5 separate regions of the Homo sapiens genome follow, and all the other regions are linked to region 3. Evidence: promoter capture Hi-C in 16 types of primary human blood cells and fetal thymus (Javierre and others, 2016). All regions are on one chromosome and are shown on one strand. The core of a region is centred on a gene start or on the middle of the fragment in contact, and the rest is flanking DNA. Distances in the headings are between cores, read along the strand shown. Region 1 has its middle 23 kb from the start of ZNF699. Region 2 has its middle 17 kb from the start of OR7E24. Region 3 holds the start of ZNF266 (zinc finger protein 266). Region 4 has its middle 20 kb from the start of OR7D2. Region 5 overlaps ZNF561-AS1 (ZNF561 antisense RNA 1).

Region 1 (5,078 bases), core at 1,142-3,641, 150 kb before region 3:
TTATTCTTGGGAGACTATCAATGGGGCCAGCTGTGACTCCCGTCTCCTGTACCTCTCCTTTGGGAAGAATCACTCTAGTCTACTTTGAATCACCTTTGGTGACAACTGTCAGCAATTTTTTTTTTTTTGAGACAGAATCTCGCTCTGTCACCCAGCCTGAAGTACAGTGGCGAAATCTTGGCTCATTGCAATGTCTACCTCCCAGGTTAAGCGATTCCCCTGCCTCAGCCTCCCAAGTGGCTAGGATTACAGGCGCGTGCCACCATGCCCGGCTAACTTTTGTATTTTTAGTAGAGATGGGGTTTCACCGTGCTGGCAGTCTGATCTTGAACTCCTGCCTTCAAGTGATCTGCCCATCTTGGCCTCCCAAAGTGCTGGAATTACAGTCGTGAGCCACCACACCTGGGCAGCATTTTCTGACTTGAGGTTTCCTAATTAGGCAGATAGTTGGGTAGCAAAGGGTCCCAGGATTCACAAAAAGGTAGTGGTTCTCAAAAGGGAGCCCGCACCAGATGACCTCAAGGACTTGTTTAAACACAGATTGCTAGAACCCACTTTCAAGTTTCTGTCCCAGTAGGTCTAAATTTGAGTCATAATTTGCATTTGGGACACATTCTAGATGTGATGGTCCCCAGGACAATCTTTTTGGGAACCAGTGTCCTGGGGCAGTGCTTCACAAATTGAGATTTATCAAAGGTATAAAGAGGGGATCTTGTGAACAGATAGCTTCCTACCCTATCCCAGACTTACCTTGCCAAGATCTCCAAAGGAAGACCTAAGAGTCTACTTTAAAAAAAAAATACTATAGTTTTTTGTTTTTGTTTTTGAGACAGGGTCTTGCTGTGTCACCACGGTGGAGTGCAGTGGTGTGATCACAGCTCACTGCAGCTTTAACTTCCTGGGGTCAAGCAATCCTCCCACAACAGCCTCCTGAGTAGCTGGGACTACAGGAGTGCACCAACATGCCCAGCTAGTTTTTACTTTTCTTTTTTTTTTTTTTTTTTTTTTTTTAGAGACAGGGTTTCACCATGCTACCCTGGGGGATCCCAGGGTAATAGCTTCCCACTCTATCCCAGACTTACCGTGTCAATATCTCCAAGGGAGGACCTAAGAATCTACTTTTTAAAAAAAATTTTAACAGTTGGCCGGGCACGGAGGCTCACGCCTGTAATCCCAGCAGTTTGGGAGGCCGAGGCGGGTGAATCATGAGGTCAGGAGTTTGAGACCAGCCTGGCCAACATGGTGAAACCCCGTCTCTACTAAAAATACAAAAATTAGCCAGGCGTGGTGGCACACGCCTGTAATCCTAGCTACTCAGGAAGTTGAGGAAACAGAATTGCTTGAACCTGGGAGGCGGAGGTTGCAATGAGCTGAGATCGCACCATTGCTCTCTGCCTGAGGGACAGAGTGAGACTCTGTCTCAGAAAAAAAAAAATTACAACAGTTTTATTTATTAAAGTTTTTATTAATCTAAAATAAATAAATAATAAAGTTTTTATTAATTTTTTTTTCTTTTTGAGACAAGGTCTCACTCTTGTTAAGGCTGGAGTGCAGTGGCGCAATCTCAGCTAACTGCAGCCTCAAATTCCCGAGCTTAAATTATCCTCTCACCTCAGCCTTCCAAGTAGCTGGGAGTACAGGCTGCGCCCCCATGCCCCACTAATTTTTTTTATTTTTTTGTAGAGACAGGGCATCACTATGTTGCCCAGACTGTCTAGAATTTGTGGCCTCACGTAATTCTTCTGTCTCAGCCTCCCAAAGTGCTGGAATTACAGGCATGAGCTACCACACCTGGCCTTTATTAATATTTTTATTGTGGTAAAATATGTATAACAAAATTGACCATTTTAAGTGTAAGACTCAGCAGCACATTGCCGGGCACGATGGCTCATGCCTGTAATCCCAGCACTTTGGGAGGCTGAGGTGGGTAGGTCACCTGAGGTTGGGAGTTTGAGACCAGCCTAACCAACATGGTGAAATCACGTTTCTACTAAAAAAAAAGTATACAAAAATTAGCCAGGCCTGGTGGTGTGCACCTATAATCCCAGCTACTAGGGAGGGTGAGGCAGGAGAATCGCTTAAACCCGGGAGGCGGAGGTTGTAGTGAGCCGAGATCACGACACTGCACTCCAGCCTGGGCGACAGAGTGAGACTCCATCTCAAAAAAAAAAAAAAAAAGGAGACTCAGTGGCACTAGGTACATTCACAATGGTGTGCACCATTACTACTATCCATCTTCCATTCTTTTTCATCATTTCTGAATGGAAACCCTATACGCATGAAATAATACCTCCCATTCTCCTCTGCTTCCAGGCCCTGGCAACCTCTATTGCTCCTTCTGTGTCTATGAATTCCCTGTTCATGTTTCCTCATATAAGTGGAATCATACAATATTTGTCATTTTGCGTCTGGTTTATTTCACTTAGCATAATGTTTTCAAGGTTCAACCATATTGCTTTTATTTATTTATTTACTTTTAATAGCAATGTGGGTCTTACTATGTTGCCCAGGTTGGTCTCAAACTCCTGGCCTCATGCAATCCTCCCGCCTTGGCCTCCCAAAGTGCTGGGATTACAAACGTGAGCTATCATGCCCAGCTCCATGTTGCTTTTGGGATCAAATGCAAACAATCATTACTGAGGCCAATGTCAAAGAGCTTTTTCCCTATATATATTTTTTGAGAAGGTTTATGGCTTCATGTCTTACATTTAAGTTTTTCGTGCATTTTCAATTGATTTTTGTATATAAGAGTCAAATTTCTTCTTTTTTTTCTGTTTTGCATACGGATATCCAGTTTTCACGCCACCATTTACTGAAAAGACTATCCTTTCCCCATTGGGTATTCTTAGTGTCTTTGTTGAAAAATAGTTGACTGCACATACATGGAGTTATTTCTAGGCTCTCTATTGTGTTCCATTGGTCTATGTGTCTGCTATTATGGCACTAACATACTGTTTTGATTCAGTAGTTTTGTAATATAGCAATGAAATCATGAAATGTGATGCCTCCACCTTAGGTCCTCTTTTTAAAATTTTTAATCAACAAATAATAATTGTATATATTTAAGGGGTACTATGTGTTTTGTTATATGTATACATTATGGAATGATGAAATAAAGCTAATTAACATACCCATCACCTCACATACTAGACAGGAACAGAAAGATAAACACTGTGTGATCAGGAGCTAAGCTATGACTACATGAAGACATAAGAATGATACATGGGACTCTGGGGACTTGGGGGAAAGGGTGGGAGGGGTGAGGGATAAAAGACTACACATTGGTTAACAGTGTACACTGCTCGGGTGATGGGTACACCAAAATCTCAGAAATCACCGCTAAAGAACTTATTCATGTAACCAAACACCACTTGTTCCCCAAAAACCTATTGAAATAAAAATGATAATAAATACTGCATGATCTCACTGATATGTGGAATCAAAAAAGTCAAACTCTCGGCAGCAGAGAGTAGAATGGTTGATACCACGGGCTGGAGGATGGGGTGGAGAAATGGGAAGATGTTGGTCAAAGGGTGCAAAATTTCAGTTAGACAGGAAGAAAATTTCTGGACATTGATTGTACTGTATGGTGACTATAGTTAATAATAATGTATTGTACATTTGAAAATTCCTCAGCCGTGGTGGCTCATATCATGCCTATGATCCCAGCACTTTGGGAGGCTGAGGCGGAAGGATCACTTGAATCCAGGTCTTCCAGCCTGGACAACATAGCAAGACCCCATCTCTACAAAAAAAAAAAAAAGTAAAAAATTAGTCAGTTATGGTGGTGTGTGCCTGTAGTCCTAGCCACTTGGGTGGATCACTTAAGCCCAGAAGTTCCAGGCTGCAGTGAGCTATAATCACACCACTGCATTCCAGCCTGGGCGACAGAGTGAGACCCTGTCTCAAAATAATAATAAACACTAATTTTCAAATATTCACCATAATCCCATCAACAATTGTATTTCCATATCCTCGCAATCTAACTATAGCCCCTGTTAGGACTCCATTACCAGTCTTGGAACCAGAGTACATGAGGCTCCCATGTCAAGGAGTCCCAGAAAAGTCTTTTCTCTACCTCCTGACCATTTTATGCACTTGTGTGAATATCACCTTGTGTTACCAGCCACGTTTCTACTAAAGAAAGTATACAAAAGTTAGCCAGGTGTGGTGTGCACCTGTAATCCCAGCTACTCAGGAGGCTGAAGCAGGAGAGTCACTTGAACCCAGGAGGCAGAGGTTGTAGTGAGCTGAGATCATGCCACTGCACTCCAGCCTGGGTGACGGAGCAAGACTCTGTCTCAAAAATAATAATAATAATAGTAATAATAATAACTCTTTGGGAGGCCGAGACGGGTGGATCACAAGGTTAGGAGATCGAGACCATCCTGGCCAACATGGTGAAACCCTGTCTCTACTAAAAATACAAAAATTAGCTGGGTGTGGTGGCATGCGCCTGTAATCCCAGCTACTCGGGAGGCTGAGACAGGAGAATCCCTTGAACCTGGGAGGTGGAGGTTGCAGTGAGCCGAGCTCGCGCCACTGCACTCCAGCCTGGAGACAGAGTGAGACTCCATCTCAAAAAAATAATTAATTAAATAAAATAAAAATAAAATAAGAACTTAGGATAGTGGAAGAAGTGTTTCTGATCCCACAGAAAGGATATAGTCCCTGCTTCCACCCCAGCCATGCTAGTATCACTTCCTATATGCATTTCTGGTGATACTGAGTGGCTTTAATTTACAGCCAATGTTGATAATCCATCTGCCCAAGGCTAAACATAGACTGGTTCTTATTCCTTATTTTTTAACACCTTTCAGATTTTTACATATTAGCCAAAAATTTTATGATTGAGGAAGATAACAGAAACACAACTAATTGAGAAGCTTCTCTGGGTACTTTGGGCCTCTTAGAGTGGGGTGCTGGGTTAAGTCTTATCGCATTTCAAAAGACTTAGTGTGGATAGTGAATTTGAAGACAGAACTGACCAGAATACTGTGTCCCACATATCCTGGTAGCAGAACACTTAGATATCTGTACTCATTCATTTTACAAATGTTTGAGTCACTATGAGGTGT
Region 2 (4,702 bases), core at 558-3,057, 170 kb before region 3:
GACGCAGCTGAACTGAGGTAGGCTCCAAGTCCTGTTCCATAAAATAAGCAAACAACTGCCAGGTGAGAGCCACATGTGGAGAAGGCTTTATACTTCCCATCTGATGATGGAATTCTTAGAATGGAGGAGACAATTTTATAGTAAGACAAAAGGATCCCTGAGATGGGAAGAAAACCAAATATAACACTATCTAAATACATGAATATGTTATTGATGACACTGTCAGAACAGGCAAGGTTGAGAAGTTGAGATGGCTCACAGAAAAAATTAAAGATTTCCACATTCTTGAAGCAGGTGAATTGTAACACAATCTGATTGTGCAGCTGGGAGTTCAACAGGCTAAGAATAAAAGACACCAAAACTAAGAAGACACAGAGATGGGGATTCATGATGACTGGGTAGCGTAGGGGGTGACAAATGGCCACAAACTGGTCATAGGCCATCACAGTCAGGACCATGTCATTCATACACACAAAATAGATAAAGACATCTGCATCAGGCAGCCCTCATAGGAGATGATTCTGCTGTGAGATTGCATATCAACAATCATCTTAGGGATGGTGGCAGAGGTGAGTCCGATGTCAGCCAAGGACAAGTTGGAGAGGAAGAAGTACATGGGGGTGTGGAGGTGGGAGTCACAGCTGACGGCCAGGATGATGAGCAGGTTCCCCAGCACCGTGATCAGGTACATGGACAGGAACAGCCCAACGAGGACGGGCTGCAGTTCTGGATCCTCTGAGAGTCCCAGGAAGAGAAATTCTAAGACACCTGTGAGATTCTGCGAGTCTGTGTAACTTGGACACCTTGAGAAGAAAAGAGGGTTGAAAAAATAAAAGACATAAATCAGCACTTACTGCTGTGTGCATATTTTGGATACAAGCAATTCACAAGTAACATTTTCACACTTGAAGACCATACACCCTCAGCAATATTTCTCCATTGTGAGAAACCCAAAAATCTCAGAATTATTACATGATTTACTTTTTTGCTATTCAACTCTTTCTGTATATACCTACTTCAGAGAAAATCCACTGAAGAATGTTAAAAGATCAAGGACGTAATATATAACAAATCCATGATTGCAATAAAACATGGCCTAGTCTTTTCAGAAAAAAAAAATAAGAAATGTACTTTTCTAAGAAAAAAAAAGCCCAATTTAATTAAAAGAAATTAAGAAGCAGTGAAATATAATTCATTTTATTCTGACACTGTGCTACAAACTCCTTGGATGTAGAATATTTATAAACACTATACAAGAGCTAGGAGCACATTATCTAGAAACTAAAACAGACCTGCTAGTTCATAATCAGAAGACCTTTTTACATGCCAATTACTTTTCATATTTTTTATCATTCTTAGGTTTTCTGACATCATTTCTTCACACAAGTAAATGCACACTCAAATATAGGAGCTATGTTTCCAAATTTATTTAATATATAGCTCTTGTCCTTGGCTCATGTTTTCTTTGGGTTTTGATAAGAAAGCTTTGTTGCACATAATCATAGGCCTTCAGCAACCACACAGCTATCGATAATGTGTAATGCATGTGTCATCACTAAATAATAATGAAGTTTAATAACATTTTCTCTTTATTTTATTTTAGCCTGGAATGATGCGAAACTCAAAATTGTGTCTAAGCACGAGAATCAGGTCTACCTGCCCTCTTCTCTTTGTGCCTTTCTTCATTCTGATATAGCTACAAAAATCTCTGCGATGGTATTTAGGTACTTGAACATTGCAGATGCTATTAAATGGAATTCTAAGGTCCCTGTGTCTGTGACATAGACATAAACAGGTGTTATCTTGTATCTCATTTTATTAGACATTCCTAAAGGGATGAGGGGACAGACAAGAAACCACCAACTGTGTTGAGGTCACACTAATCACAGCCAATTTTTTGTGATCCAAGGAAGGGCCTATCCAGTATTTAACGGGGAACTTTATTTTTGATGCCTCCTTTGGGACTGGCAAGATATAGGCTCTGGGGGATCAGAAACGAAAGAGATGCAAACATTCCTCTCATAATACTCAGCACTTACTTAGATAGGTGCAAATGTCAAATGTCCTGTCAGGGATGTAGGGAACTGTAACTTCAGGCCAGAGGACATTTCAGTTCAATTGTATGAAGATTAAGCTTAAAATAGTAATAAGAATATCAAAATTCACTTTGGTTTTATGTATCCATCACATAGAGATCAGCAGAGAACACCCATGATCTGTTGAATCATCACTCACTGTAGTTGGGTCAACTAGAAATCAGCTCAGATGATAGTGCTGAGTCTCAGAGACACAGAGATCTCACCCCGTGTCACAGAGTTCAGGGAAATGGGCAGATTCAAAACTAAATGGTCCGTCTCTGAGGCCCAGGCACTACCCTTCTTCATTATTGTTCAGCTCTCAGAAAGTCTTAAGCAGAGGTGGGAGGTCTTAACTACAGGCACTTCTGGGGTGCATTTAGAAACGAGTTCCAGCTTCCTGAATAGAAATGGAGCCAAGACCCTGATTTTATGTCTCCTTTGAGGAGGTGGAGAGCTGCAAGGAAAGCCAGGAACGGGGGAAAGGGAGAGATGCACCCTGAATGATCCTGTGCCAGTTCTTTCTGGGATCTTTGATGTGATCTCAGCTGCCCTTTCTATACGTGATACTATGAATGTAGCACCCTCTAGTCTAGCTGTGGTCTACCAGGAACCCCCCAAGGGAAGGGCACAGTGAGCAAGGGCATCTGCCAGGACTGACAGGGATTTGAGAGGGCAGGTTGGACTCAGAGAGAGGCCTGGCCCAATGCCATGTGTCTGGACTTAGACGGCTCCTTTCCTATTCTATAATTAAGAATAATGCGGCAGGTATAATTCAGGGAAGACTAAGCAGATGAAAGAGAACAGGCTTCATAGAACATCAAGAAGTCCTCAGTAAAAGTTCATGATAGCCTGGTGACCATCGTCTTCCTCCTCATCCTCATCATCACCTTCATAATCCTTTTGGCATGCTTAGGGAACACGCTATTACGAGTGAGATGTCTTTGGGAAGTTGAACCAGTGTGGAAGAAAAGTTAAACTTTGAATGAGATTTCTGAGACCAATCACAACCCAGAACATAAACTCCACGGTCGTCTGAGCTGACATTTTGCACGTGGGTTTCCTCCCATCTGCCACCCCACTGTCCTGTTTGTCCTGAGGATGAGGAAACAAGGCTCCCGACCATCCCTCAGCACTCACTGAGCTGCGCTTCCCCTCTGCTGGGCCATGACCACGGAGAGCAGGTCCGCCGTCCTCCCTGTGTGGTGCACGATGGAGGCTCAGGCTCCGTCCTCAGGACTGGCAGGAAGACAGGGTCAGACATGAGCCTCCTGATGCAGACGACAGGTGTGGAGCCCACTGGACTGGAAGCTCACACTGCAGGGCTGGAGGCACAGGCTGAGTATTTACTGTCCTATGGCCTTGGGGGCTCAAGGCACAGAGCTCCTCATTAGCCAAACTGGCCCAAGTTCCCCAGTCTTTAAGGACTTCCTCATTAATGCAAGATAAAGCAGAAAAAATGAACGTCCCCAGGAACTTTTGGGCTCTTCCTCTAATGAGGAGAAAGCTTGTGTTCATCGTTCACTTCTTTCATTTCTTTTTCTTTTTCAAGGATGCATCTTTTTTAAGTTTTCATATTTTTATCCTGGCAAAATGTACCACATTCAATATAAAAATTATAAATATAGGTTTATACAAAATGGTAAGTAACATTTTACCATTTATCCTCTTCAAAATGGTAACCAATACCATTTTAACCACTTTTCACTGTACAGTTTGCTGGCATTAAGTACATCCACAGTGTTGTGCAACCACCACCGTCATGCATCAATATATTTCTCTTTCAGAACAGAAACTCCTGACTGCAAGCAATCCACCCAGCTTGGCTTCCCGAAGTGCTGGCATTACAGGCGTGAGCCACTGCACCCGGCCATTCTGTATGCTCATTGTCTATTTGTTTATCTTCTTTAGAGAAATGTCTATTCTAGTCCTCTTGATGGAGCAGTTAACTCCCATTAATATCAAGCAATGGATTGTTCAATACTTCATTATGCAAAAATAAATAATAGGTTTTTTTTTATTTTAAAACATCAAGCAACAGGGCCACAGAGTGGCAGTTAAAAAAAAAAAAAGCTACTGTTGTTTCAACCTTCAATCGGAACACAGAGATCCCCATATTCTTGTCATCAGAAGCTACTCATGGAGTCCAGCCCACACTCAAGAAGAGGAGATGACACTCGGGCATGAAAACTAGGAGGGAGGGACCCTTGGAAGGGTCTTAGGAGCCACCCGCAGGCTTCATCTTCTATCAGGGTTTTGTACTCTAAGCACAGCAACACTCTGCAGATATCCAGCATAATTCCCAATTCATCACACCACTATGATCACAACCAAAAAATTCCAAAAAAAAAAAAATGTCTGGAAGGAAAAACTGGCACTTGGGCAGAACTTCTTCTACATTGAGTACCCACCTGACCAAGCAGTGCACAGAAGCCTCCCTGGATTCTCTTACCCCTGTAGAGTCCTGCCATTGACATCAGGCCAACCAGCAGCCACTCTATGCCTGAGAACAACAAATCTCCCCTGCAGCTTCCGATTTCCACTCAGTTATCAAGGGATCATCTTGCCGGTCCACAATGTGTCATCATTGTTTTTCTTTGTGTTTACAGCTTGGGGACTGCCCTTCC
Region 3 (5,214 bases), core at 1,020-3,519:
TGGTCATTTACTTACATGGATTGTATCAAGCCAACCCCCTAGGTGTATGAGTGTCTATAAGGAGTCACGCAGAGTGCTTACTCTGGACATTCCTTCAGGGAAACGAAGGACTAATTTAGGTAGGAGAAGGAACCCAAAAGTGAATTGAAAAAAACAACGAGAGAAGTTTTGTCTGTTTATGAATATACATATTTCCTAAGACTAATAATTAACATCAGTGAATTTTCATGGAGAGCTTATTTTTCAGTGATCAAGCACTGATTCTCATTAATCCCTTGAATTAATTTCTTATTCATGTAATTAAAACACATTCATGCTTCTCCTATTTTCCCTTGATTTACATCATTTGTCAGATATCACTTACTTTGGCCAGGCACAGTGGCTTATACCTGTAATCCCAGCATTTTGGGAGGCCGAGGTGGGTGGATCACTTGAGGTCAGGAGTCTGAGACCAGACTGGCCAACATGCTGAAACCATCTCTACTAAAAAAAAAAAAAATACAAAAATACAAAAATTAGCCAGGCATGGTGGCGCACACTTGTAATCCCAGCTACTAGGGTGGCTGAGGCAGGAGGATGGCTTGAAAACCCAAGAGGTGGAGGTTACAGTGTTTCAGTGAGCCGAGATCCTGCCACTGCACTGGAGCCTGGCAACAGCGAAACTCTGTCTCCCAAAAGATATCACTTACTATTTCCTGTCATACATTTAAGATTAAATTATCCCACCACATTGTTTCCCCAACCAAAGAAAGAATACTGACTCTGTCAAACCTGGGAGTAATCTTTGATGCACTCCTCTCTCTCACCATAGAAGTGGAGTCAGCCAATTCACAGAATGCTTTGCCCAGCTCTTATTTCCTTCCCCTTCAGTATGGCTAAATCATACCATATTTTTGGTCTCAGCTTGCATATCACTCTTTTCTTAGCATTGCCTATTCCAAAGAAAAATAGAGAAAATAATTCTGTCCTCTACTTTACTTACAGACCTTCATCAATTTGTAATACACTTATTTGCTTGGTTACATGACAGCCTCCTCCACTAGTTTACAACCTCCCTAAGAACAGCCCTAGGCTGAATTTTTTTACTATGCCTTAATTAACCATTCAGACACTCATCCATTTACAGGATACACCAATAAATGAAGGATACATTTAAACACGGCACAGAATACAATCAGAACTACCAAAATGTATAACTTTCTGAAAGAACGAGTGACTGCGCAAAAAGACAATATAACGGATAAACAGTGTCTGCTAGTTTTAAAGAGACTAAAAGACATGAAACTTGGATACGTAATAGATCCCAAAACAATCAAAACCATATATTGGAACAAAGTGGAGAACTGTACCTTTTTACACAGGGTACATATTAACAACATTTTAAATTTTCTGGGGTAATAGTATTATGGTTTTAAAAGGACATGTCTTTATCCACAGGACACGTATTACCAAGCATTTAAACCTTAAGTGTCACGCCTGCAATGTTCAACTTACTTCAAAGCCTCCATTCCTTCTTCCTAAAAGCCCGTTTTGAAGCTCTGTGGGGAGGTACAGGCCTAGGAAGTTCAGATAAAAAGAATAGCTGAGTATTCTTGCTTTTCTTCAGTAGAAAGACTTCTGGTCTACAAACGTTTATATTCACATAGAGAAATAACCACACCCCAGATACCTAAAAAATAGCTTTATGTTTCTACCTGAATGTAGAGTGTCAAAAGTAAATACAGGATGCGCAAAGAGAAAAACAAATTCTCAGATAAAACAGGAGGAAGAAGCCCCCGAAACCAACTTTCACCCCAGTACTCACCGCGACGAGCTGGACTCGCCAGGTACGGGAGATTGGGGGGATGAAGGACCAGTCAACCTGATTCGAACGACGAAAACTCGTTGTTTCTGGAAAAAAAAAAGTCACAAAGAATTGCTTTGGAAGAGTTTGAAGCGGCAATCACCGTGTTTGCAAAAATCGTGAGGAAGCGCCCTTACGACAGATCCCGAAACGGCTCCTGGCCCAGGGCCGTCGCAGTGACAACTCGAGTGGCTTTTTGAACCTGGCGGCGCCAGGAGGACCCGCGCGGCCCCGGCGGACGCGAGCGGAGCAGGCAAGGTCTCTCTAAGGAGGCCCCTCGGCGGCCTGGGGCAAACCGGTACTTTCGCCACCCCTTCCACCGCTGGCTCCCACCCGTCATCCGACCTCGCCAAAGCTGTATTAAGCCCAAACGCCACCAGGAAGAAAACGGGTTTGGCGGCGCGGAGAAAGCGCCGGAAAACACAGCAGCGCTCCGTGACGTCACTTCCGCCTCCAGCCTCAAACCTGGAGGAGCGCTCGGGAACTGCAACCTCAGCCGAGCTGAACAACCTCAGGCAGAGAGATTCTGGTTTACTCCCCAGTGGCTACGGAGACGCCTTGGAGGCCTTGGAGTCTGCTCACCTTGAGGGATGGAGGCCAAAAGGGGCCCAGAGCACAAGGCTGAGGTTAGAACCAGCCCTGCGGACGGGGCTAACCTAGGGTGGGGTCGGTGGTGTTGGCAAAGTTAGAGGTGGGGGCTCCCCCACAGGATGTGCACAATGCTCACAAAAAGCTTTTATTCTCACCTCCTCCCACGTTCCTAGCACCCTCAAAATGATGCTTCCTTTGATAATCCTGCCAGTCCATGATATGGCCTATCTCCTCCATTCATTCAATCTAGTTTTAGTTTTTTATTTTGTTTTTGTTTGAGACAGGGTCTCACTGTGTAGTCCAGGCTGGCGTGCTGTGGGGCGAAACTCATGGGCTCACGCCATCATCCCGCCTCAGCCTCCCGAGTAGCTGGGTCTACAGGCGCAGGCCACCATGCCCGGCTAATTTTTTTTCCCCCAGAGTTGAGGTATGTTACCCAGGCTGATCTCAAACTCCTGGGCTCCAACAATCATCCCGCCTCAGCCTCCCAAAAGGCTGGGATTACAGGCGTGCACCACGGCGCCGGGCCCAATTCAACTTGAGGCCAATATTTCCCCTTATTTCATTTATCTGGACGCCATGCTAAATTCTAATAGTTGATTCCTTTGTGTATTCAATATGCTGATACTTTTTGTAAATGTTGATTTTTTTTTCTTTGACTAATATATTGTTTTCTGAGATCTTACAGTGAGTTCCAGGGCCTCGTTGTAAAATACCGCGTTGTAAAATAGCACTGATATCAGGCATTCACTTCTGCAGGAGTGATTCTAGTTTCTCCAGAAATCGTTTTTGCTGTGCTTTGTAGTGGGTGGCCTTTATGGAGTTAATAAAGTTATTTTGAACACTGTTTTACTAACATGAAGAACTGTTCATGTACATTATCAAATATTTTGTGAATCTACTGAACTGGTAACTATTTTGCAGTTAATTTTTCAACTCAAAAAGATTTTCTTTTTTAAGTTTCCTCTCTTGCATTAAGAAGTCTTCATAAACTCTAGATTACATATAGATTTCCTAATTTTCTTCTGCAGCATATTACTTTAAAAACATTGAAATCTTTCATACTCATGGAATGTGTTTCAGTATGTGGTGTGGGATAGTGGATACAATATCTCTTTCCTCCAGAAACACGGCCAATTATTGTAGTACCACATATTGATAAACTGTCCTTGATTTACTGATTTCAAATTCCATGTTTATTAAACTATAAATTCCTATGTATACCTGTATCTGATTCTAGACTCTATGCCAGTAATACATTTACTTATGCCAATATCAAGATCATAATCTTTTCATTCCAGTGGTTTTGTATCAACTAATAATATTCCGTGGTAATAATAATAATAATGGTAGCTTTTTTGTTTGTTTGTTTTTGAGACAGTCTTGCTCTGTCACCCAGGCTGGAATACAGTGGTACGATCTCGGCTCACTGCAACCTCCACCTCCTGAGTTCTAGGGATTCTCCTTTCTCAGTCTCCTGAGTAGCTGGGATTATAGGCACGCGCCACCACGCTCAGCTAATTTTTGTATTTTTTTTTTTTTTTTTTTTTAGTAGAGATGGGGTTTCGCCATGTTGGCCAGGGTGGTCTCAAACTCCTAACCTCAGGTGATCTGCCCACCTCAGCCTCTGAAAGTGCTGGTGTGAGCCACCGCACCTGGCGGTAGCTGTTTTTTAAATCTTACTACCCTAAATGCTTAATAGACATTAAATTTTTACGCTCCCAATGATGTGGCTATTATTGTGATTTTTCCCTTTTGGTTTTTAGACCAGCTGTATTGAGATACAATTCACATATAACCAACACAGTTCACCCACTTAAAGCTATATAATTCAATATTTTTTAGTACATTCGCAGTGTTGTTCAAACATAATTTTGGAACATTTTAATCACACTAAAAGAAATCTTTGAATGGGAAAACCCATTTACCTCCTCTTTAAGCTCCAGGGAACCACAAACCTACTTTATCACTACAGATTTTTCTTTTGTAGACATTTCATATGGATATACTCATACAATTTATTTTTATTTTTGTATAGACAGGGTCTCACTATGTTGCAAGGCTGATCTCGAACTCCTGGGCTTAAGTAGTCCTGCCTCGGCCTCCAAAAGTGCTGGGATTATAGGCGTGAGCCACCATGCCCGGCCTAAAAATCATACAATCTTTTGTGAATAACTTTTTTCACTTAGCCCGTTTTTCAAGGTTCATCTGTATTATAGCCTAGATCATTCTATTTTATTGCTGAATGATATTCCATTCTATGTATATACCATATATGATTTGTCTTCAGTTGATGGACATATGGTTTGTTTCCACTTTGGGGGTGTTGTGATTAATGCTGCTATGAAAATTCACATATATCTTTTTGTGCATACTGGCTTTTATTTTTTGAGAAATCACAGCTCACTGCAGCCTCTACCTCCTAGGCTCAAGCGATCCTCCCACCTCAGCCTCCTGAGCAACTAGGACCACAGGCATAAGCCACCACACCCAGCTAATTTTTGTATTTTTTTGTAGAGACAGGGTTTTGCCCAGGCTGGTCTCAAACTCCTAAGCTCAAGCAACCTGCCCGCCTCGGCCTCCACAAAGGCATAAGCCACCACGCTCAGCTGGTTTTTATTTCTCTAGAGTATATATCTGGGAATGGAATTGCTGAGCCATACAGTAACTATCTAAGAATTTGAAGAACTGCCACACTGTTTTTGAAAGGGGCTGTACTGTTTTACATTCCCACCAGAAATGTATGAGGGCTCCAACTTCTCTACGTCCCTGCTAACACT
Region 4 (5,000 bases), core at 1,678-4,177, 240 kb before region 3:
AAATCACACACCGGGGCCTGTTGTGGGGTGGGGGGAGGGGAAGGGATAGCATTAGGAGATGTACCTAATGTAAATGATGAGTTAACGGGTGCAGCACACCAACATGGCACGTGTATACATATGTAACAAACCTGAACGTTGTGTACATGTACCCTAGAATTTAAAGTATAAAAAAAAAATCACATAAGAAAAGAAAGGTTTTGAAAGATTCTGCAAATAATGAAGGTTAATACATTAAAAAGTGATGGTAGACATTCTTCAGTTGCACATTAAAAAAAAACTCAGAAAATAGTATCCTCCTGTTTCCATTAAGTGGACTCTTCATGTGAGGGGAAATTAGGAAAAGATGAAAGAAAATGATTCATTCTACTGCACAAACATAACTCTTTTTTTTTTTTTTTTTTAAGATAGAGTCTCACTCTGTCGCCTATGTTGGAGTGCACTGGTGCAATCTTGGCTCACTGCAACCTCCGCCTCCCAGGTTCAAGAGATTCTCCTGCCTCAGCCTCCTGAGTAGCTGGGACTACAGGTGCGCACCACCACGCCTGGCTAATTTGTGTATTTTTAGTAGAGACAGGGTTTCACCATATTGGCCAGGCTGGTGTCGAACTCCTGACCTCATGATCTGCCCACCTCAGACTTCCAAAGTGCTGGGATTACAGGCCTGAGCCACTGCGCCCAGCCAACTCTTTGGTTTTTATACAAAAGTACATACCTTGAAGACATTATCATCACTGAAGTAAATAAATCACAGAAGGATAAACACAACTGGGCTCAGTGGCTCACACCAGTAATCCCAGCACTTTGGGAGGCTGAGGCAGGCGGATCACTTGAGGTCAAGGGTTTGAGACCAGCCCGGCGAACATGGCGAAAGCTCGTCTCTACTAAAAATACAAAAATTAGCCAGATATGGTGGCACATGCCTGTAATCCCAGCTACTTGGGAGAATGAGACAGGAGAATTGCTTGAACTTGGGAGGCAGAGGTTGCAATGAGCCAAGATCACGCCACTGCACTCCAGCCTGAGTGACAGAATGAGACTCTGTCTCAAAAAAAGATAAACACAGTATGATTCCACTGATATCAAATATCTAGAGTAGTTAAACTCATAGAGTTGGAAAACAGAATGGTGGCCCCAAGGAGTGGGCGAGAGAGAGGAATGGAGAGTTTGTTGAATGGGCACAGTTTCCATTTTGAAAGATAAAAATGTTCTGGAGATGATGGTGGTGATGGTTGCTAAACAATACAAATGTACTTAATGTCATTAAACTGTAAACTTAAAAATAGTGGAAATTGTTTATATTGACCCTTCTATATAAAATAATATATATTTATACTTTTTAATATTTACACATGGTATATTTTACCACAATAAAAGATGAAAATTGAAGCATTTGGATCTTTACAAAGAAAAGAAAAAAGTGAATAATACACACAAGCTTTCTCCTGATTAGAGGAAGAGCCCAAAAGCTTCTATGGACACTCATTTTTCTCTTCTTCTTCCTGAATTATTATGAGGAAGTCCTTAGAGATTGGGGAACTTGGGCCAATTTGGCTAATGAGGAGCTCTGTGCCTTGAGCCCCCAAGGCCATAGCATAGTGAATACTCAGCCTGTGCCTCCAGCCCTGCAGTGTGAGCTTCCAGTCCAGTGGGCTCCACACCTGTCGTCTGCATCAGGAGGCTCATGTCTGACCCTGTCTTCCTGCCAGTCCTGAGGACGGAGCCTGAGCCTCCATCGTGCACCACGCAGGGAGGACAGCGGACCTGCTCTCCATGATCATGGCCCAGCAGAGGGGAAGCGCAGCTCAGTGAGTGCTGAGGGATGGTCGGGAGCCTTCTTTCCTCATCCTCAGGACAAACAGGACAGTGGAGTGGCAGATAGGAGGACATCAATGTGCAAAATATCAGCTCAGACAACTGTGGAGTTTATGTTCTTGATTGTGGTGGGGACTCTGAAATCTCACTCAAAGTTTTACTTTCTCCCTCCACTGGTTCTACTTGCTATAGACATCTCACTGAAGCTAGGAAAAAATAGGTCTCTCTAAGCTATTCCATGAACACTGTAAAAGGATTATGAAGCTGATGATGAGGATGAGGAGGAAGAGGACAGTCACTATGACATCATGAACTTTTCCTGAGGGCTTCCTGAATGCCAGGCGCCCAGTTCTGTGTTCTATGTGGTTTGTTTCATTTTATCTGCATAGCCTTCTGCAATCCATAAGTGCACACATTATTATTATTTTGCACGAGGAAAGGAGCTGTGCATTTTTATGTAACTTGTAGTATTTCATGAAGTAGAGAGGAGTAAAGCCATGTTTGAATCAGGCCATCTAAATCCTTGCACATGGCATTTGGCTAGGCCTCTTCCTGCATCCAACCTGCCCTCTCGAATCCCTGTCACTCTGGACCCCTGGTGTGCTCACTGCTTACCAGTGGGTTCCTGGTAGACCACAGCTAGACCAGTGGGTGCTACGTTCACTGTATCAAGTATAGAAAGGGCAGCTGAGATCACATCAAAGATCCCAGAAAGAACTGGCACAGGATCCTTCAGGGTGCATCTCTCCCTTGCCCCTGTTCCTGGCTTTCCTTGCAGCTCTCCACCTCCTGAAAGGAGAAATAAAATCAGAGTTTTGGCCTCATTCCTACTCAGGAATCTGGAAACAGTTTGAAAATGCACCTCCGATGTGCCTGTGGTTAAGACCTCTTACCTCTGCTTACAACTTTCTGATAGCTGGGAAACATAAAAAAGGTTCATGCCTGAGACTCAGAGACTGATCATTTATTAGGTTGGTGACAACAGTAATGGCAAAAACCTCAATTACTTTTGCATCAACCTATAATTTTTTTAAAATCCTGTTATTCCACTTATCTGTGTGGCAGGGGGCAAGATGTTAGTGTTTCTGAGACTCAACATTGCCACCTGAGTTGATTTCTAGTTGACACAGATACATTCAGTATTGATTAAGCAGATCATGGGGGCTCCCTGTGGGATCTATTTGTGATGGATGCATAAAGTAAAGGCAACGTGTATTCTAGAAATTGTTATTAATATTTTAAGATTAATCTTTATATCACTCAACTGAAATATCCTGTGACCTGAAGTTACTGTTTCTGTACTTCCCACAGGACATTTTATTTTTGTCCTTATATAATTAAGTACTGATTATTGTGACAGAAACAACTGAGTCTCTTTCATCTCTAATTCTCCAGAGTCTCTAACCTGCTTGACACAGAGGAGGCATCAGAAATAAAAATCTCTTTTAAGAGAAATGCAGGTCAGGCGCATTGGCTCATGCCTGTAATCCCAGCACTTTGGGAGGCTGAGGCGGGTGGATCACTTGAGGTCAGGAGTTTGAGACCAGCCTGGCCAACATGGTGAAACCCCATCTCTACTGAAAATACAAAAATTAGCTGGGCATGGTGGTGGGCACCTGTAATCCCAGCTACTCAGGAGGCTGAGGCAGGAGAATCACTTGAACCTGGGAGACAGAGGTTGCAGTGAACTGAGATCGTGCCTCTGCACTCCAGCCTGGGTGACAGAGCAAGACTCCATCTCAAAAAAAAAAAAAGAGAGAGAGAGAAATGCAAATCGAAACTACAAGGAGATATCATCTCACCCCATTTAGAATGGCTTTTATCAAAAAGTCAGGCAATAGCAAATGCTCACAAGGATGTGGAGAAAGGGGAACAATTGCACACTGTTGGTGGGAATGCAAGTTAGTCCATCCATTATGGAGAACGAGTTGGAGTTTCCTCAAAATACTACAAATAGAGCTACCATAAGATGCAGCAATTCCGGGCCAGGTGCGGTGGCTCATGCCTGTATTCTCAGCACTTTAGGAGGCCAAGGCGGGTGGATCACGAGGTCAGGAGATCGAGACCATCCTGGCTAACATGGTGAAACCCTGTCTCTACTAAAAATACAAAAAATTAGCCGAGCGTGGTGGCGGGCGCCGGTAGTCCCAGCTACTCGGAAGGCTGAGGAAGGAGAATCGCTTGACCTGGGAGGCGGAGGTTGCAGTGAGCCAAGGTCGCGCCACTGCACTCTAGCCTAGGCGACAGAGCGAGATTCCATCTCAAAACAAACAAACAAACAAAAGATACAGCAATTCCATTGCTAAGTATATACCCCCCCATAAGGGAATCCATATATTGAAGAGATATCTGCACTCCCATGTTTATTACAGCACTAGTCACAATAGCCATGATTTGGAAGCAGCTAAGCATTCACCATCCATTCAACATATGAATGGACAAAGAAATTGTGTACATGTGCACAATAGAGCATTATGCAGCCATAAAAAAGGAAGAGATCCTGTCATTTGCAACAACTTGGATGGAACTGGGGGCCATCAATTTAAATGAAATAAGCCAGGCACAGAAAGATAAGCTTCACGCGTTCTCACTTATTTGTGGGATCTAAAAATTAAAACAATGGAAATCATGGAGATAGAGAGTAGAAGGATGATTACCAGAGGCTGGGAAGGGGAGTGGGGGTGAGGGGAAAAGTGCAGGATGGTTAAGCAACACAAAAGTATAGTTAGAGACAATGAATGAGATCTAGTATTAGGTGACTGTAATCAACAATAATTTATTGTACATTTTAAAATAGCTAAGAGTAATTGGATTGTTTGGCACAAGGAAAGGATAAATGCATGAGGTGATGGATACCCCATTTACCCTGATGCGATTATTGTACCTTGTATGCCTGTGTCAAAATATCTCATGTCATTCATAAATATATACACCTGCTATGTACCCATAATATTTTTTAAAAAGAAAATGATGTATAATTATGTGTGTAAATGTGGATATAACTCTACAGAAATACTGAATGAAAAAGCAAGTTACAGAGTAATACCTGCTCTATACTTTCGTTGACATAAAATTTAAGAAAGCAAAATTAAATGATTCATTACTTAGGGATATATATATATATGAGTAGAGTATAAAGAAAGAAGAGATTAACTCAAATTTCACATTGGAGGTTACCTGTGCCG
Region 5 (4,526 bases), core at 231-2,730, 190 kb after region 3:
CTTTCCATGATTCTTCCATATTGATAAAGCTGCCAATGAATGGCATGGTCTATCCCTTCCATTCAGTCAGAGTTTCTGTAGGCCTTTTTTTCTTCATTCTTTATTTTTTAGAACCTGCTGATTCCATTGGGTTTTCTTTTTCTTTCTTGCTTGCTTGCTTGCTTGCGACAGATCTCACTGGATCAGACCAGGCTGGAGTGCAGTGGTGTGATCTCAGCTCACCGCAACCTCCACCTCCCAGGTTCAAGCAATTCTCCTGCCTCAGCCTCTGGAGTAGCTGGGATTACAGGCGCCTGCCACCACGCCCAGCTAATTTTTGTATTTTTAGTAGAGAACGATTTCACCAGGTTGGCCAGGCTGATCTCGAACTCCTGGCCTAAAATATCTGCCAGGCCAAGATGGTAGGATCGTTTAAGGCCAGGAGTTTAAGACAAGCCTGGGCTACACAGCAAAACCCCATCTCTCTATATATATATAAAAAAAATTTAAATTAAAAAATGTTTTGTTTTGTTTTGTTTTTTTGAGACATAGTTTCGCTCTGCCACCCAGACTGGAGTGCAGTGGTGCGATCTTCACTCACTGCAAACTCTGCCTCCTGGGTTCAAGCCATTCTTCTGCCTCAGCCTCCTGAGTAGTTGGGACTACAGGCATGTGCCACTGCGCCCAACTAATTTTTGCATTTTTAATACAGACATGGTTTCATCATATTGACCCAGCTGGTCTCAAAGTCCTGACCTCGTGATCCATCCACCTGGTCCTCCCAAAGAGCTGGGATTACAGGCATGAGCCACTGCCCCAGCCAAAAATATGTATTTCTGTTGTTATTTTTCTGATCTTACCACATGGGCCAGGAACACATTTCCTACGTTGTAAAATAGCACTGATACCAGACATTCTCCCCAAGATTATTCAGAAATGTAACATACTCCCAATAAAAATACCAAAAGTTTTTTTCTGGAGTTAAGTACATTGATACTGAAGTTTATGTGGAGGAACAAACATCTGATAATAACCAAGAAAACAAAAACAAAAGCAATGATGAGCAGCAGATATTAAAACATACTATTGACAGTTTTCATGCAAGGCAAAGAATTACATTATTTTAAAATAAAAATAAAGTCCGGGCACAGTGGCTCACGCCTGTAATCCCAGCAATTTGGGAGGCCGAGGCAGGCAAATTACCTGAAGTCGGGGGTTTGATACCAGCCTGGCTAACATGGTGAAACCCTGTCTCTACTAGAAGTACAAAAATTAGCAAGCGTGGTGGCACATGCTTGTAATCCCAGCTACTTGGGAGGCTGAGGCAGGAGAGTTGCTTGAGCCTGGGAGATGAAGGTTGCAGTGAGCCGAGATTGTGCCACTGAATTGCAGCCTGGCTGACAGAGTGAGACTCTGTCTAAAAAATTAATTAATTAATTAATTTAAAAAACATACTATAAAGCCTCTATAATTAAAACTATGTGGTACTAGCACGTGAAACAGAAACTAATAAAATATCAAAAAATAGACCCATGAACATGTAGAAATTTGGTTCATAAATGTATTTTGCCAGATGCGGTGGCTCATGCCTGTATCCTAGCAATTTGGGAGACTGAGGCAGGAGGATCACTTGAGGTCAGGAGTTCAAAACCAGCCTGCCCAACATGGTGAAACCCCATCTCTATTAAAAATACAAAAACATAGCCGGGTTCGGTGGCTCATGCCTGTAATCCCAGAACTTTGGGAAGCCGAGGCAGCCGGATCATGAGGTCAGGAGTTCGAGACTAGTCTGACCAACATGGTGAAATCCCATCTCTACTAAAAATACAAAAATTAGCTGGGTGTGGTGATGCATGCCTGTAATCTCAGCTACTCAGGAGGCTGAGGCAGGAGAATTGCTTGAACCCAGAAGGCGGAGGTTGCAGTAAGCTGAGATCGCACCACTGCACTCCAGCCTGGGCAACAGAGTGAGACTCTGTCTCAAAAAAGAAAAAAAATTTAGCCAAGCATGGCCGAGCATGCTGGCTCATGCCTGTAATCCCAGCACTTTGGGAGGCTGAGGCAGGCAGATCACGACGTCACGAGATCGAGACCATCCTGGCCAACTTGGTGAAACCCCGTCTCTACTAAAAATAGAAAAATTAGCTGGCATGGTGGCGGGTGCCTGTAATCCCAGCTACTCAGGAGGCCGAAGTAGGAGAATCGCTTGAACCCAGGAGGCGGAGGTTGCAGTGAGCCAAGATCGCTCCCCTGCACTCCAGCCTGGCGATAGAGCGAGACTCCGTCTAAAAAAAAAAAAAAAAAAATTAGCCAAGCGTTGTGGTGGGCGCCTGTAAGCCCAGCTACTCGGGTGGCTGAGGCAAGAGAATTGCTCAAACCTGGGAGGCAGAGGTTGCAGTGAGCCGAGATCACGCCATTTCACTCCAGCCTGGCGACACAGCGAGACTCTGTCTCAAAAAAAAAAAAAAAAAAAAAAAAAAAAGCCGGGTGCATTGGCTGATGCCTATAATTCCAGCACTTTTGGAGGCAGAGGCGGGTGGATCACCTGAGGTCACGAGTTAGAGACCATCCTGACCAACATGAAGAAACCCCGTCTCTGCTAAAAATACAAAATTAGCTGGGCATGGTGGCACATGCTTATAATCCCAGGTACTCAGGAAGCTGAGGCAGGAGAACCGCTTGAACCCAGGAGGCGGAGGTTGGGGTGAGTGGAGATCGTGCCATTGCATTCCAGCCAGGGCAACAAGAGAGAAACACCGTCTAAAAAAAAAAAGTGGCATTTCAGATAAATGGGGCAAAAAATGCCATTTGTAACAAATGGAAGGTCTAAGATAGCTGGTTAGCCATCTGAGAAAAGATGAAATTAAATCCATACTTCACAGCATATACAAGAATAAACTCCAAGTGGACTAGGGATCTAAGTGTAAAAAATAAAACCACACACGTATTTAGGGTGTTTAAGTGATTTCTTGGCTGAGTAAGGAAAAAGATGTTACCACAAGGCGGCAGTAGCACACAAGCTTCATTTGGGATGTGCTTTGACAGGTTAGCAGTGGGGGAGGTAGCAAACAGCAAGAGAATATCCACAGGCTTCTACCTGTGGGTCGCTGCTCAGAAAGGGTGGAAAGGAAGAAAGACTCTCAGAGGAGAAGGGGAATCAAAGAGGGGGCTTATAAATAACTAAATGATGATATTCACCAGACTGGCAGCATATCTTCCAGTTAAAAAGCTCTGAAGGATAAGTCTGGCCAATATGGTGAAACTCCGTCTCTACTAAAAATACAAAAATTAGCAGGTATGGTGCCAGGTGCCTATAATCCCAGCTACTTGGGAGGCTGAGGCAGGAGAATCGCTTGAACCCAGGAGATGGAGGCTGCAGTGAGCTGAGATTGTGCCCCTGTACTCCAGCCTGGGTGGCAGAGCAAGACCCTGCATCAGAAAAAAAAAAAAAAAAAAGCTCTGAAGGACCGCAGGGGTATGGGGTTTTCATAGCCCTGGAGTTATCTTATCTATGGCTGTCAGATATTGGATATAATTTCAGAGAATACAAAGCAGGCGCACTCGAAATGGCTAAAAATAGGCTTGTTCAGGCTATGTTTCAAACAATCCAGTGTGTTAAAATTGCAGTTTGGCAGGGGTAGGCTATTGTGAATACTAGTGAGACAAACATTGGTGTACAAATATCTCTGAGTCCCTGCTCTGAACAGTTTTGGATATGCCAAAGTGGAATATCTGGATCACATGGTAATTCTGTTTAATCGTTCTTTTTTTTTCTTTTTTTTGAGACAGGGTCTCACTCTATTGTCTAGGCTCGAATGCAGTGACGTGATCATGGATCACTGCAGTCCTCAACTTACTGGGCTCAGGTAATCCTCCCACCTCAACCTCCCAGGTAGCAGAGATTACAGGTGCATGCCACCACCATCCTTGGCTGAATTAAAAAAAATTTTTTTGTAAAGACCATATTTCACCATATGCCCAGGCTGGTCCTGAAGTCCTAATCTCAAGGAATCCCCTGGCCTCAGCCTCCCGAAGTGCTGGGATTACAGGTGTGAGCCATCACATCCAGCATGGTTTTGATTTTCATTTTCATGATGTTTAGTGATGTTGAGCATCGTTTCATGAGCATCTTTTCGTGTGTTTATTGGCCATCTGTATATCTTCTTTGGTGATATTATTCAAGTCCTTTTTCTGTATTGAAATGAGTTTTGTTGTTGTTACTCTTGGGTTCTAGAAATTTTAAAAATAAACTCTGGATATTTGTCCCCAGTCAGATACAGGACTTGCAAATATTTTCTCCCATTTGTAGATTGTCTTTTTACTCTCTTGTTATTATGCTTTGATGCACAAAATTTGTATCATTGATTAGGTTCAACTCATAATTTTTCTTGTGTTGCCTGTGTGGTTGATGTCATAACTGAGAAGTCATTTCCAGTTGAAGCTTTCTCACCTATGTTTTCTTCTAATAGTTTTCCAGCTCTAGCTCTTACACTACACTAAGGTTTTTGATCCATTTTTAAAAAATCATGCCACATTATTATTATTAT

What was found. Contacts are between HindIII fragments. The CHiCAGO score rates a contact against its expected background, and 5 or more counts as called.
Region 1: a contact is called between a fragment that was not itself captured here and the fragment with the promoter of ZNF266 in region 3, in 1 of 17 cell types (activated CD4 T cells). The highest score is 5.1, in activated CD4 T cells.
Region 2: a fragment that was not itself captured here is called in contact with the fragment with the promoter of ZNF266 in region 3 in 1 of 17 cell types (activated CD4 T cells); the score reaches 5.9 in activated CD4 T cells.
Region 4: a contact is called between a fragment that was not itself captured here and the fragment with the promoter of ZNF266 in region 3, in 1 of 17 cell types (megakaryocytes). The highest score is 5.7, in megakaryocytes.
Region 5: a contact is called between a fragment that was not itself captured here and the fragment with the promoter of ZNF266 in region 3, in 7 of 17 cell types (erythroblasts, naive CD4 T cells, fetal thymus and 4 more). The highest score is 8.9, in erythroblasts.

What each region holds. Positions count from the first base shown.
Region 1 is chr19:9,284,338-9,289,415 of GRCh38, forward strand. No RefSeq gene overlaps it. Among named protein-coding and RNA genes, the nearest start is that of ZNF699, 23 kb to the right of the region's middle. The HindIII fragment of the contact is 4,986 bases long and covers 1-4,884 here.
Region 2 is chr19:9,265,526-9,270,227 of GRCh38, forward strand. It overlaps the pseudogene OR7E19P. Among named protein-coding and RNA genes, the nearest start is that of OR7E24, 17 kb to the left of the region's middle. The HindIII fragment of the contact is 650 bases long and covers 1,483-2,132 here.
Region 3 is chr19:9,433,304-9,438,517 of GRCh38, forward strand. ZNF266 (zinc finger protein 266) reads right to left here and starts at 2,270. Exons shown (of 11, transcript NM_001370374.1): 1 at 1,981-2,270; 2 at 1,805-1,890; 3 at 1,495-1,556; 4 at 772-932; 5 at 365-483. It overlaps LOC105372269 (a long non-coding RNA gene), which reads left to right and starts at 2,338. Exons shown (of 3, transcript XR_007067133.1): 1 at 2,338-2,469. RefSeq lists an enhancer at 2,061-2,190. The HindIII fragment of the contact is 21,418 bases long and covers 1-2,574 here.
Region 4 is chr19:9,196,716-9,201,715 of GRCh38, forward strand. No RefSeq gene overlaps it. Among named protein-coding and RNA genes, the nearest start is that of OR7D2, 20 kb to the left of the region's middle. The HindIII fragment of the contact is 2,921 bases long and covers 1,468-4,388 here.
Region 5 is chr19:9,623,016-9,627,541 of GRCh38, forward strand. ZNF561-AS1 (ZNF561 antisense RNA 1) reads left to right here. Exons shown (of 4, transcript NR_122038.1): 2 at 3,769-3,845. Among named protein-coding and RNA genes, the nearest start is that of ZNF561-AS1, 3.8 kb to the left of the region's middle. The HindIII fragment of the contact is 3,033 bases long and covers 1-2,997 here.